Regions from separate parts of the Homo sapiens genome. Here all the other regions are linked to region 1. The links are contacts of gene promoters, found by promoter capture Hi-C in human tissues and cell types (Jung and others, 2019). All regions are on one chromosome and are shown on one strand. The core of a region is centred on a gene start or on the middle of the fragment in contact, and the rest is flanking DNA. Distances in the headings are between cores, read along the strand shown. Region 1 holds the start of SMARCE1 (SWI/SNF related BAF chromatin remodeling complex subunit E1). Region 2 holds the start of KRT14 (keratin 14). Region 3 holds the start of KRTAP17-1 (keratin associated protein 17-1).

Region 1 (4,351 bases), core at 892-3,391:
GTCCCCTCCTTTCCCTTTTTGCCGTTTTTGGGCCACCCCTTTCCTACTATAGGGTGCTTTATTCTTAACATCCAAAACCTGCAGTTTTTCTTCAGAGGACTGCCTAGAGACAACACACAGCGCCTCCCCAGCACTGCACTCGCCCAATCCTCCCACCATAATCCCAAAGGCAGGGAAGAAACCAGGCTGGAGTTGCTGGACGAAGCCAGAAAAAGAATGTACTGAAATCCCTTCTGAGGCCTTTGTGTATCGTACTTTAATCCTTTACATGTCTCTGATGGATATATACATATATATATATATAATTTTTTTTTTTTTGAGACAGAGTCTCGCTCTCTCGCCCAGGCTGGAGTGCAGTGGCGCCATCTCCGTTCACTGCAAGCTCCGCCTCCCGGGTTCACGCCATTCTCCTGCCTCAGCCTCCCCAATAGCTGGGACCACAGGCGCCCGCCGCCACGCCCGGCTAATTTTGTTTTTGTATTTTTAGTAGGGACGGGGTTTCACCGTGTTAGCCAGGATGGTCTCGATCTCCTGACCTAGTAATCTGCCCGCCTCGGCCTCCCAAAAGAGCTGGGATTACAGGCGTGAATATTTTTTAACAAGCAATTTCATGTACATTTTCTCAAGCACCACTCAAGCTGCCTGTCCACGGGGCAGACGACTTCTCCTTTAGTCTTTCTCTTGAATATGCTCTTCAATTTCATTAATCTCTATTCATGAGTATAACAATATTGGAAAAATTGGACAGAGTATCACTTGTTCCTCGCTTTGCAGACTAGAGATGCTTCTAGTCCCTGTTGGCACACTCAGGATGGGGGCTACGGGAAGCCCAAGAATTCAGCCTCTCTCTAAATGTCAACTGTTTTCCAGTAACCACAGGTCAGGGATCCCATACGTTCATTCTCCCTCCACAGTGACCCACAATATCCATCGGGTGTTTATGTATCCAAAGAAGAGGCTACTCATTCCATCTGGTAAACCAACATACTCATGATTTAGTGGAAAGAGCCCTGGAGTGGCACAGAGGGCTGCCTCAATACACACTTACTGAGCGTCTAACAATGAATGGGTCAAGCCCTTCGTAGGCACTGGCAATGGGAAGATGACCAATACAGACGGCTGAACCTTGCTTTCAAGGCCTTCATAAAGCACTGGAGATGACAAACACGGTCCGATACAAAGGGTCGGGTTCAGGACTCCAACCATTATTATCAAAGAGCCACGGGAATACAAAGGAAGGATTACTAGGGGGGAAGTTCCAGGAGGGCATCACAAAGAGACCTCTGAGCTGGATCCAGAAGGACAGATGAGTTTAAGCTGAAAGTGGGGACGGTCGTTCCCGCTGGTGGGAACCGAAGGAGCCGAGGCAGCGCTGAGGCGGAGACCAGGTGGCACCCGCGGCGCTGCAAGGACACACAAGCTGTTGCGAGGGGGTCAACTCTCCGGGCCTTGGCTTAGAAACCTGGGACGATTACACCCTAAAAGCGCTTGGAAAAACTGCAGAACTCGTGCTGATTTTCGCCAAAGCTACTCCCCCGCCGTGAGGGCAGGAAGCCCTGCGAGGCGCCTGCGAGGACGCAAACGCCGCGAAGCAAGTCCTCCACGCCTCCATCCCAGGTTTAGTGAAGTGTAGACTCTGACCCACAGCCTAAAGGAAAGCAAGACCGGAGTCGGGGAGGGCCCCTCCAGGAGCGGGCTCAGCGGGAGTCTGGCCGAACTGCTTGCTGCCACAGTGGTTCCGCGGCCTCGCGCTGAGCGCCATCCGCCGTCTCCCACCGCGGCCCCCACCGCCCCTCCGCAAGGCTCGGCACCTCCCGCCACTTCCTCGGTCGCTGCGGCGGCTCCGGCTCCTCACAGCCGCTAAACCCAGGCCTATTCTGTGTTAGGTCGGGCCTCCTCGGCCCTCTTCGCCGTGACGAATCAGCGCCCGGCTGGGAAAGTATCAAAATTCGGGGAGTTTTGAGGATCCAATGGGTCCTGAAAAAAATCCCTGAGTGTGCTAAGCATCACCGCATCTTCACTAGAAGGTTAGTTTTTCTAAAGAGGGTCGGGTGGGGCCCGGAAAAAAAAAAAAATTAAGAAGAGTGTGGAAAGTGCGAGTGCGGAAGCTCCGGACGCGAGGGGCGGGGCGAGCGCGGGACAAAGGGAAGCGAAGCCGGAGCTGCGGGCGCTTTTTCTGCCCGCGGGTGAGTGTTTCCAAGTGGGACGGACCGGGTCGGTGGGTGCAAGTCGTGGTGTCCCCGCTTGGCTAGACCCCGAGTTCCCGGGGGTTGCTGGGGTTCAGCCTTGGCCGTGGGGCCAGAGCCAGGAGCCGGTTGAGGCCTCCTTGAGGCCTAGCAGAGCGAGGGTTGGGAGGGAGTCCCATCTGGGGCCCCCTCCTTGGAGGCAAGGCCAGTCCCCCGAAATTGGTCAAAGCACCTGTGAATACCCCGTTTTAGGGGAGTTGCTAGTAAAGTACATTCTCCAAGACAAAGAGAGCGACCTCAGGAAGCCGTGGGCAAGGCAGGTCCGTGGTTCACCCCCCACCCGGGCAGAAGGTTCCCCCATTGGTTCAGGCAGCGACTTGAGGACGAGCAGAGCTCTGAAATAGTTTGGCCTGGGTTTGAAACCCAACTTTGGCACTTCCTGGCTGCATATGGCTTCAGACAAGTTGTTTAAACTTTCCGAGACTCCCTTGTTTCATCTGTAAAATGGGGATAGCTGTACATATAAAGTACTTGTGAGTGTTAAGCGAAATAGTGTCATAAGCGTACCCCGTATAAAGTATTTCTTGAACAAATATTTATCGGGTATTTATTTTTATGCCAGGCACCAAAGATGGATCCAACGGTGGACAAATGTACAAGCCCACTCTTAAATTTTGTATTCTAGCAAAAGAGAGCAATAATTTTAAAGTATTAACAATGAAGTATAACGTACAGGGAGCTTATGTTAGTTGTCAGGGTCCCCTGCAGCGAGGCCTGCTGGATGTTGACAGCTCCCTTAATGTGAGCAGAAAGGAAATCTACACCAGAGTCAAAGGTTTCTGGCTGTTCTTTAAGAGGGAAAGACTCAGGTTGGACCATTGAGAAAATGAGCTGTTTCTTTCCACACCAGGACTCATTCCTTATGCTCCAGGGAATTTCCTTAAAATTAATAATAGAAGCGAAAAATCAGATCTATTCCACATGTTTGGTTGCAAATACCTCCAATAGTCATAGAAGTTTATTTGCCTTCTTTCCAAAGATGAATTTTTGTCTTTTTGTACCTCACTATTTGTGATGTATGTTGATGTAAAGAACAAGCTCACATGTGCCTGGTTATGTTGTGAGCTGGTAATACTAGGAAAAAATTTCCTAAGAATTGAGCTAGGTCCTGACATGGTCCCTCTTTCCAAGTAGCATACAATCTAGCCATATTGATAAGTTAAAAAAAAGTTATAATAATATAGATCTGTGTAAACTGTATAGGAATACAGATGGGGGAGCAGTTAATTCTGCCCAGGTAATGTATCAAGAAAGTTCCCTTGAGGAGAAAAATTTTGAAATGGGCTGTGAATGATGAATAAAAGTTTTTCAGGTAGACTCTCAAAATTTATTCCCAGCATTTATGAAGCTATTTACCATTATAAGAGAATGTGAAGTTCATTGTCATACCAATTACCTTTTGCACTGCTTCCAGGAATAAAATGCTGCCTAATTTTAATAAAAATTGTTATCCCAAAAGCATGATACAGTTGCTGATCAGGGAGCTGTCAGTATCTGGTAGGCCTTGTTGCGTTGGACCCTGATAATACATCACTTTCTATTCTCATCCTTGTATCAGTCTGATGAAATGTTTACATGGCGTCAGCAAAATGTTTTCCATACAAGAGGTAGCTTAGTATCACAAGAAAAAACCTGAAAGTACATTTCTAAATATCCCCAGTACTTTATTTTAGTCATTTAATTCTAATCAACCAAATGACCTATAAGAACTAGTTAAAATACACAAAAGGCTTAATTACTAGGAATTAAGGTGAAGTAATTTTACTCAGAAATACCAATTAAATTACCCTATTCATTAGGAAAACATTCTCGTATGCTTGCTGAGTTTTGATTCTCTTTTTTTTTTCCTTTTTTTTTTATTTTAGTGTCTCAGATTCATTCTTAAGGAACTGAGAACTTAATCTTCCAAAATGTCAAGTAAGTTTCAATTTTTATATTTATCAATCTATGTTAATAAGAGACTAATGCCCTAGCAAGTGGGAATTCCAAAATACTCTCATTTTTTTTTCTTCAAAACAGGACCATTGGTAGTTTTGTTGCATAGTATTATATCTCAGTTGTTTACAAGAAGTTATTTATTTTCTTTCAAACAGAAAGACCATCTT
Region 2 (4,351 bases), core at 1,091-3,590, 940 kb before region 1:
TGTGGTGTCCTCTAAGTCTGCTCCCTGCTTGGCTGGGTTGTTTGCAGCTCCTTGGTCACTGAGTCCTTGTCTGCAGGGGTTGGCCTCAGGCTCCAGGTTGGGTCACGGTTCTAAGACCGGGTGTGGGGGATCAGGCTTATATTCCATGCTAGGGTTCTGGTGTTGGTGCGTGGGGTTGGGGTGGGACTGCAGAAGTGCCTTTTAAGATTATGTGATTGACTGATCTGTCATTGGTTCCCTGCCATCTTTATCTTTTGGATTCCCCTCGGAGGAGGGGGAGGAAGGAGTTTCTTTTGGGTTTTATTGAATGAAATGAAAGGGAAAGTAGAGCTGTTCCTATGTCCCGGGCTCCGGAGCTTCTATTCCTGATCCCTGCATAAGAAGGAGACATGGTGGTGGTGGTGGTGGGTGGGGGTGGTGGGGCACAGAGGAAGCCGGTACTGGGCTCTGCACCCCATTCCCGCTCCCAGATCCCTCTGGACACAGCATTTTTCTCCAGTGAGCACAGCCTCCCCTTGCCCCACAGCCAACAGCAACATGCCTCCCAACAAAAGCATCTGTCCCTCAGCCAAAACCCCTGTTGCCTCTCTCTGGGGAAATTGTAGGGCTGGGCCAGGGTGGGGGGACCATTCTCTGCAGGGAGATTAGGAGTGTCTGTCAGGGGCGGGTGGAGCGGGGTGGGGCCCTGGCTTACTCACATCCTTGAGAGTCCTTTGCTGGCAGATTTGGGGAGCCCACAGCTCAGATGTCTGTCTCAGCATTGTCTTCCAAGCTCCTAGGCCACAGTAGTGGGGGGCTCCCTTCTCTGGCTTCTTCTTTGGTGACAGTCAAGGTGGGGTTGGGGGTGACAGAGGGTCCTGCTTCTCTTCTAGGAGCAGTTGATCCCAGGAAGAGCATTGGAGCCTCCAGCAGGGGCTGTTGGGGCCTGTCTGAGGAGATAGGATGCGTCAGGCAGCCCCAGACACGATCACATTCCTCTCAACATGCCTGCCGGGGTCTGTGGAGCCTAGGGGCTGATGGGAGGGTGGGGTGGGGGCCGGAAGGGTTTGCTTTGGGAGGTTGTCTGGGAGATTGCTGAAGTTTTGATATACACACCTCCAAAGCAGGACCAAGTGGACTCCTAGAAATGTCCCCTGACCCTTGGGGCTTCAGGAGTCAGGGACCCTCGTGTCCACCTCAGCCTTGCCCTTGGCACAGCCCAGCTCCACTCCAGCCTCTACTCCTCCCCAGAACATCTCCTGGGCCAGTTCCACAAGGGGCTCAAACGAGGGCGCCTGAGCTGCCCACACTAGGGATGTTCTGGGGGTCTGAGAAGATATCTGGGGCTGGAAGAATAAAAGGCCCCCCTAGGCCTGTTCCTGGATGCAGCTCCAGCCACTTTGGGGCTAAGCCTGGGCTATAACAATGCCAACGAGGCTTCTTGCCATACTCGGTTTACAAAACCCTTTCACATACATTGTCGCATTGGATTCTCAGAGCTGACTGCACTAAGCAGAATAGATGGTATGACTCCCACTTTGCAGATGAGAACACTGAGGCTCAGAGAAGTGCCAAGCCCTGGGTCACAGAGGCGTAAATGGCAGAGCCAGGACCCACCTGACTCCAGGCTGTTTCCTGGCCTCCATGAGGCCACCTGCCCTATGGTGTGGTGGATGTGAGATCCTCACCATAGGGAGGAGATTAGGGTCTGTGCTCAGGGCTGGGGAGAGCTGCCTGGATTTCTCTTTGATGGGGATGTTGGGGTGGGAACCACGATACACCTGACTAGCTGGGTGTATTTCAGGGATGGGACAGACTTCTCAGCACAGCATGGGAGGTCAGGCCTGGGAGGGCCCCCCAGACCTCCTTGTCTCTAATAGAGGGTCATGGTGAGGGAGGCCTGTCTGTGCCCAAGGTGACCTTGCCATGCCGGTGCTTTCCAGCCGGGTATCCATCCCCTGCAGCAGCAGGCTTCCTCTACGTGGATGTTAAAGGCCCATTCAGTTCATGGAGAGCTAGCAGGTAACTAGGTTTAAGGTGCAGAGGCCCTGCTCTCTGTCACCCTGGCTAAGCCCAGTGCGCGGGTTCCTGAGGGCTGGGACTCCCAGGGTCCGATGGGAAAGTGTAGCCTGCAGGCCCACACCTCCCCCTGTGAATCACGCCTGGCGGGACAAGAAAGCCCAAAACACTCCAAACAATGAGTTTCCAGTAAAATATGACAGACATGATGAGGCGGATGAGAGGAGGGACCTGGCTGGGAGTTGGCGCTAGCCTGTGGGTGATGAAAGCCAAGGGGAATGGAAAGTGCCAGACCCGCCCCCTACCCACGAGTATAAAGCACTCGCATCCCTTTCCAATTTACCCGAGCACCTTCTCTTCACTCAGCCAACTGCTCGCTCGCTCACCTCCCTCCTCTGCACCATGACCACCTGCAGCCGCCAGTTCACCTCCTCCAGCTCCATGAAGGGCTCCTGCGGCATCGGGGGCGGCATCGGGGGCGGCTCCAGCCGCATCTCCTCCGTCCTGGCCGGAGGGTCCTGCCGCGCCCCCAGCACCTACGGGGGCGGCCTGTCTGTCTCATCCTCCCGCTTCTCCTCTGGGGGAGCCTGCGGGCTGGGGGGCGGCTATGGCGGTGGCTTCAGCAGCAGCAGCAGCAGCTTTGGTAGTGGCTTTGGGGGAGGATATGGTGGTGGCCTTGGTGCTGGCTTGGGTGGTGGCTTTGGTGGTGGCTTTGCTGGTGGTGATGGGCTTCTGGTGGGCAGTGAGAAGGTGACCATGCAGAACCTCAATGACCGCCTGGCCTCCTACCTGGACAAGGTGCGTGCTCTGGAGGAGGCCAACGCCGACCTGGAAGTGAAGATCCGTGACTGGTACCAGAGGCAGCGGCCTGCTGAGATCAAAGACTACAGTCCCTACTTCAAGACCATTGAGGACCTGAGGAACAAGGTGGGTGAATGGGCAGCAGAAGGCACCATTCCAGCTAGCTCCTTCTGGGAACAATTCATGCCCCAGGCCCCTGAGACCTTAAGATTTCTCTATAGGACAGAGTCCACCCCAGATCCCTTCTTTCGAGGTCTTGGATGCCCTAAGACTGATCAGTGAGAAGATGCTTTCCCTTCCCCAGCCTCCTCATCCCCTTCTGATCTCAAATCCTCAGACCATGTGAGATCAGTGATTCCTATCCTTACATTTTTTAGAGGAAGCAGTTGAAGCTTCGAGAGGTGCTGTGACCAGCTGCAGGTCACATAGCAAATTAATGGCAGAGCCAAGGCTGGGGCCCTTGTGCCCTACCTTCCAGCACAGGAGGCAGCTACTTGTTCTCCAGCACAGGGGAGGAGTGAGGCTCTAACGGGACCAGGCAAGACATCCAAACCACTCATTAGCTCACTAGTCTGGGCTGTGGCTGCCGCCGCCCATAAGCCTTGGTACAGGCTGGTCCCTCCCCACAGCCAGGCGGGCATGGAGAGCCTGCAGAGACAATTAGTGTGGTCCCTTGATGTGCCCTGCACAGAGAGAGCCTGGCAGGCTTGTGCCCTGACTCTAGCCCCCTCCTCCCTGCTCCCACATTACTTGGGAGCCCTCCCTGCTGGAGTCTGTTGGGCTCTAATGACTTGCATGGATTAGGGAAATTCAATGATGAGGTGGGGAAATCCAACCAGACTCAGGGGCCAATATATCTTCTTATTCTTCCCCTGAGTCCTCTTTTCTAATCCCCTGTGTTAGTTGGGTTTTATCTCTTGAGAAAGTTCCACTTGAAGTCCCATGGCCTGTGAGCTTGAAAAGGAATGTGCATATCTGCAGAGGACTGGCAGGGCTGGCTGATGCAGACAGAAGAGAGGTCAGCTCAGGAAGGAGGGCTAGGGAGCCTCAGATTATTCTCCTCACCTGGAGGTGGGGAACTTGAAGCCCCAAGACCCATTAGGTTTTGCAGCAAGACACTGGCAGAATTGGGACCAGAACTCCTGGGCTTTCGATTCTAAGCCCGGGGCTGCATCTACCCCCTCTGTTGACCATGAGTTAGCAAAGTCTTAGGACAGGCCTGGGGCATCTGTTTTCCTTTGGGCTGCTATGGTCAAGTTTTGTGGGGGAAAAGGGGGATTCAGGCAAGAACATGAAGCAAGAGCTTAATGTAGGCTACAGTGAAGTCCAGCTTGTGAAGTCCATTTGACAAATTACCTGTGCCTTTTCCATCCTGCAGATTCTCACAGCCACAGTGGACAATGCCAATGTCCTTCTGCAGATTGACAATGCCCGTCTGGCCGCGGATGACTTCCGCACCAAGTGAGTTTGAAATGGTGGGCCAGAACATCCAGTGTCCCCAGAGTAGGGCATTTTTGGAGCAGTGTTTCCCAAATAGAACTAGCCAGTACCA
Region 3 (4,351 bases), core at 1,307-3,806, 670 kb before region 1:
AAGAAAAATAACACCACCATGAGGACTTCAAGTCCTCATCATGACATGTACATTTACACAATTGAAATCATAGTGTATAATTTGAGTTGCACACTGAATGTTGTACTTAATCTGAGTAAATGCTCATGAGTATATGAATTGTTAAATATAAAAGTATGATAATTTATATTTTCAAGTTGTTCAAACAACCAAGTGTTCAATATGTATACATTTATATTTACTCATTTAATCAAAACAGCTCTACGACACTGCTACTATTATTATCCTAATTTCTGTTTTATAGATGAAGAAATTCAGGTACACAGGGGTTAAGTAATTATGGGAGCAGCGAGGGGGTGGGTGAGAGGCAGGAGAACTGAATGGTGAGACATTGGAAGATGAGGAAGACTTTCTACTCTTTTGTACCTTTTATCCTGGGAATGCTTGACCTCTTATTAAAATAAATAAATATGTAAAAGGATGTGTCGGCCGGGTGCAGTGGCTCACGCCTGTAATCCCAGCACTTCGGGAGGCCGAGGCGGGCAGATCACTTGAGGTCAGGAGATCCAGACCAGCCTGTGCGACATGGCGAAACCCTGTCTCTACTAAAAATACAGCAATTAGCTGGGCTTGTTGGTGCGTGCCTGTAATCCCAGGTACTTGGGAGGCTAAGTCAGGAGCATCGTTTGAGCCCAGGAGGCGGAAGTTGCCATGAGCCAAGATCAAGCTACTGCGCTCCAGCCTGGGCAGCAGAGTGAGACTCCATCTCAAAAAAACAAACAAACAAACAAAAAAGGACACGTCTGCCATAGACATTGCTGTATTATACTCACTCAGAGGTGCCCATCTGTGGATGTGGTATGGTGGAAGAAACAGTGGACCAGGAGGGAGAACATCTGGGCCATGGGTCCAATCTACCACGGATGTGTCATCTCTGGGCCTTGGTATCATCTTCTGTAAAACACAAGTGCTTGGCAGTGATGGTCATGATAGGATTAGATTATATCAGTGTTTCCTAATGTAACCCAAGTTACCTGAGAAAGTTTAAAATATATAGCTTCTCAAGCTCTCATAAGCACACATTCTGATTTATCATAAGGACTGGAATACAGTTTGGGAATCTGTATTTTTCAAAAGGCCCCCTTTTAGGCAATTCTGATATAAAACCCTGGACCAGATGATGTTTCAGGGGTTCCTCCCAGCTCTAAAATTCCATATCCTGTGAAGTATTGAGTATCATATCAGATCCAAGTAACTCATTCATCATTTACCCTCCCGACTCCCACCCTGTCCTTAGTTCTTCTAGCCCTTCTTAGAGGCTGTCTTACTTCTAGCCCATCTTACAAAGAAAGGGAAATGAAAAGGGAAGGACTAGATCCCTTGATCCAGATCCTTACTCCCATCCCTCCTTCCATTCCCACCCCACCCCTATCTTCTGTCCTCTACCCCTACTAGATGTTGTATTCCAGCTCCAGGGCTGCCATGGGCACTCCAAGAGGAGAACAAGGTACCAAAGTCCAAGAAAGAGACAGAAATTTTGACCCATCTCAAAATTTACACATGGACCTGAACCATCTGTAGATTTTAGACTCCTTGCAAAGGCATTTTATTCCTTGGGATGACACTCTGGGTATTTTGTATTCTAATTTCTCCTTCTGCCAGATGGTCTATAAGGTTCGAACTCTTAAAAAAAGTGCGTTACATTCCCATTTTAATGTAGCATTTTGGATATTTACTGATCTCCTTCCTGCTTTCTTCTTTCTTTTCTTCTTTCCTTTCTTCCTCCCCTTCTCCTCTTCTTCCTCCTCCTGCATCTCTTCCTTCCCCGGTCAAGGAAAGGCCTGGGGCTGGAGTGGGGGTGGGTAGAGGGTTCTGATCTCAGTTCTTCCCACCTATTTAGAGAGAAGTGCGAATATTCAGCTCACCTTGCCGCCGAGACAGACCATGCCTTACCAGCTTCTTGCAGCTTTACGATGAGTCTCTCTCGGTTTCACAGGGCAGTTATTACTCATGACTGATGCTCACCGGCCAAGCCTAAACGTGTGGCACACTCCCCATACCACACACAGACACAAACATTTGCCTGGCTCACATGAACCGGGATGAGGATGCCATTTCCACCTGGGAGGAGCCACGTGACCAGGCGTTCTCAGTAGCCTCCACTGGTGTCAGGGGGAACAGAGCATTCGGCTGTTGCCGGTCTGCCTTTCCAGGACTAGCATCCATGGAAGATGGGGTCCATCGCCAACCTGCGAAGATGTGGAAGGCAAGCCCCTCATTCCAGAGCCAGAAGCTGTGGCCGGCTTCCCCTTCCCATCTCCAACCTGGGCTAATGACAGCTGGCAGATGCTTGGCCATGATGACAGGTCTTTTCGAAGATGTATTTTTACCCTCTGGATAAACAGCAGTTGGCAGGAGTGGGGCGTTTTTATGAGTTGAGGTACTCAGGACTGGAAAATAAACAGCCAGTTAATGAGCCGGTCTTATGGAAACTTGCATAAATAATAACAAAGAAAACATCCCGTCCCTCATGCCTGGGTGAGGGGATATAAAAGCTGCCATCCAGATGGCTGGCCACCGTCAGTCGTGGGGAACTCCGGCTGCGTTACCGACCTGCGAGCTGACGGGCCCGGACCATGGGGTGCTGCCCGGGGGACTGCTTCACCTGCTGCACCCAGGAGCAAAACTGCTGTGAAGAGTGCTGCTGTCAGCCGGGCTGCTGTGGCTGCTGCGGCTCCTGCTGTGGCTGTGGGGGCTCTGGCTGCGGGGGCTCTGGCTGCGGGGGCAGCTGCTGCGGATCGTCTTGCTGTGGATCTGGCTGCGGAGGCTGTGGAGGCTGCGGAGGCTGCGGGGGTGGCTGCTGTGGATCCAGTTGCTGTGGGTCCAGTTGCTGCGGCTCCGGGTGCTGTGGGCCTGTGTGCTGCCAGCCCACACCTATATGCGACACAAAATGAAGACCTTTCCCTCCACCACTGATGCAGTCCCACCGAAAGCCTCCATCTGCTCCAGGGGGACAGCCCCTCGTGTCCAGAACCTTCCATACCCCCAAGACAGTGTCTTGTCTTTCTGTGATTTGTAGAGGAGGGCTTGTTCTCCAACACCTTCTCTGGTATTTCAAGGCACCGAGAACAAGAGCCATACTCTGATGAAACATTAAAACTCGGTCACAACTAAGTGATCCCAAGCTCAAGGGTGAATCCCCAATACTTTACTTATTCACATGAAGTTCAATGTCTTGTACTATAAGACATCCTCTTCTTCAAGGTGTCTTTGGGACTGATCCTCCGCCCTGGCTTTCTGCAGCTTTGAGATGCAAAAAAGGTCCATCTTCTTTGTGAGCCTCTTAATAAATTTGAGCATGCTGGCATAACCTAATTAGTTCTCTTGCCTCTTCCTTGACCTCCCTGCTGAGGACTGGGTTAGAAAAATTCACTCTGGCATCTGCCTTAGGGTTTTTGAATTGTGGTTTTTGGATCACCTGCGTCGGAATCACCTGGGAGCTTGTTAAAACTGGAGACTCTGAGGCCCTCCCTAAGACATACAGAATCAGAATCCACCAAAGTGTGGCCTGGGAATCTGTGTTTTTAACAAGAACCTTAGATAATTCTTATGCACTGAAGTTTGAGAACCATAGATCTAGACGGAAGCTTCCGTGTGCTGCATGAGATTCACTTGAAAAGCTTTTAAAAATATAGATCATTGGGTTTTATCACTGGAGATTTTACCCGTTAGCTCTAGGGCCTAGAGTCCCTAGGGACCTGCATTTTTAAAAGCTCCTGGGTGAATGCTGATGCTGGCCACATTTAATGGTGATTGAGGGGCATGGCTTTCTTCTGCACTACAGCTCTCCTAGGATGGTTCTGCAGGAGGGCTTCAGGCTTGATCAGAACTTTCTGGCAAAGTCGGAAAGGAGGCTTTGGTAAAACAAGATTGGTTCTGAATGGAAAGGATTTCTAATGGCAAAGCTAGTGAATTCACAGTTTCTGAGGATGTTCTGCGCAGTACAGTTCCTTCTTCCAGCCTCATGCTTGGTCCAGTCTCACTTTTCTGTGCTAGGTTGTCTTACCTGGAACCAGCTACGTTTCTTCTGCCTGAGTTCTAAGGAGGAGGGAGTGAGTATACCTCTGCTAGGTAGGGCCCAGCCAAGGTGTGTGGGTCCACCTGGGAGGTTAAAACTCAAAAGACAGTTGATCAACCTTTTGTTGAAAGTGACCTTAAGCTGTGTGTGTAATAAAACTAATTTTGCTCTTGCCCTGGAAAAATAGTATTTATTTTTATGCCTACAAAGCGATGTTTCATTTGACAAAGAAAAATTTTTTTCTGATTATAAGCATAGCAATGAACTCTAAAAAATGAAAAAATACAGAAACAT

Evidence for each region. Contacts are between HindIII fragments. The study calls those that stand out against the background at their distance.
Region 2: the fragment with the promoter of KRT14 here is called in contact with the fragment with the promoter of SMARCE1 in region 1 in 1 of the 25 tissues and cell types used here (dorsolateral prefrontal cortex).
Region 3: a contact is called between the fragment with the promoter of KRTAP17-1 here and the fragment with the promoter of SMARCE1 in region 1, in 1 of the 25 tissues and cell types used here (IMR-90 fibroblasts).

The regions. Positions count from the first base shown.
Region 1 is chr17:40,645,608-40,649,958 of GRCh38, reverse strand. It overlaps SMARCE1 (SWI/SNF related BAF chromatin remodeling complex subunit E1), which reads left to right and starts at 2,141. Exons shown (of 11, transcript NM_003079.5): 1 at 2,141-2,186; 2 at 4,112-4,163; 3 at 4,340-4,351. The coding sequence starts at 4,157. RefSeq lists a silencer at 1,608-1,902. The HindIII fragment of the contact is 9,510 bases long and covers 1-4,351 here.
Region 2 is chr17:41,584,884-41,589,234 of GRCh38, reverse strand. It overlaps KRT14 (keratin 14), which reads left to right and starts at 2,340. Exons shown (of 8, transcript NM_000526.5): 1 at 2,340-2,925; 2 at 4,178-4,260. The coding sequence starts at 2,401. It overlaps LOC124904003 (a long non-coding RNA gene), which reads right to left and starts at 888. Exons shown (of 2, transcript XR_007065755.1): 1 at 699-888; 2 at 284-372. RefSeq lists an enhancer at 3,437-3,938. The HindIII fragment of the contact is 15,142 bases long and covers 1-4,351 here.
Region 3 is chr17:41,313,915-41,318,265 of GRCh38, reverse strand. KRTAP17-1 (keratin associated protein 17-1) reads left to right here and starts at 2,556. Exons shown (of 1, transcript NM_031964.2): 1 at 2,556-3,354. The coding sequence starts at 2,616. The coding sequence ends at 2,933. The HindIII fragment of the contact is 6,672 bases long and covers 1-4,031 here.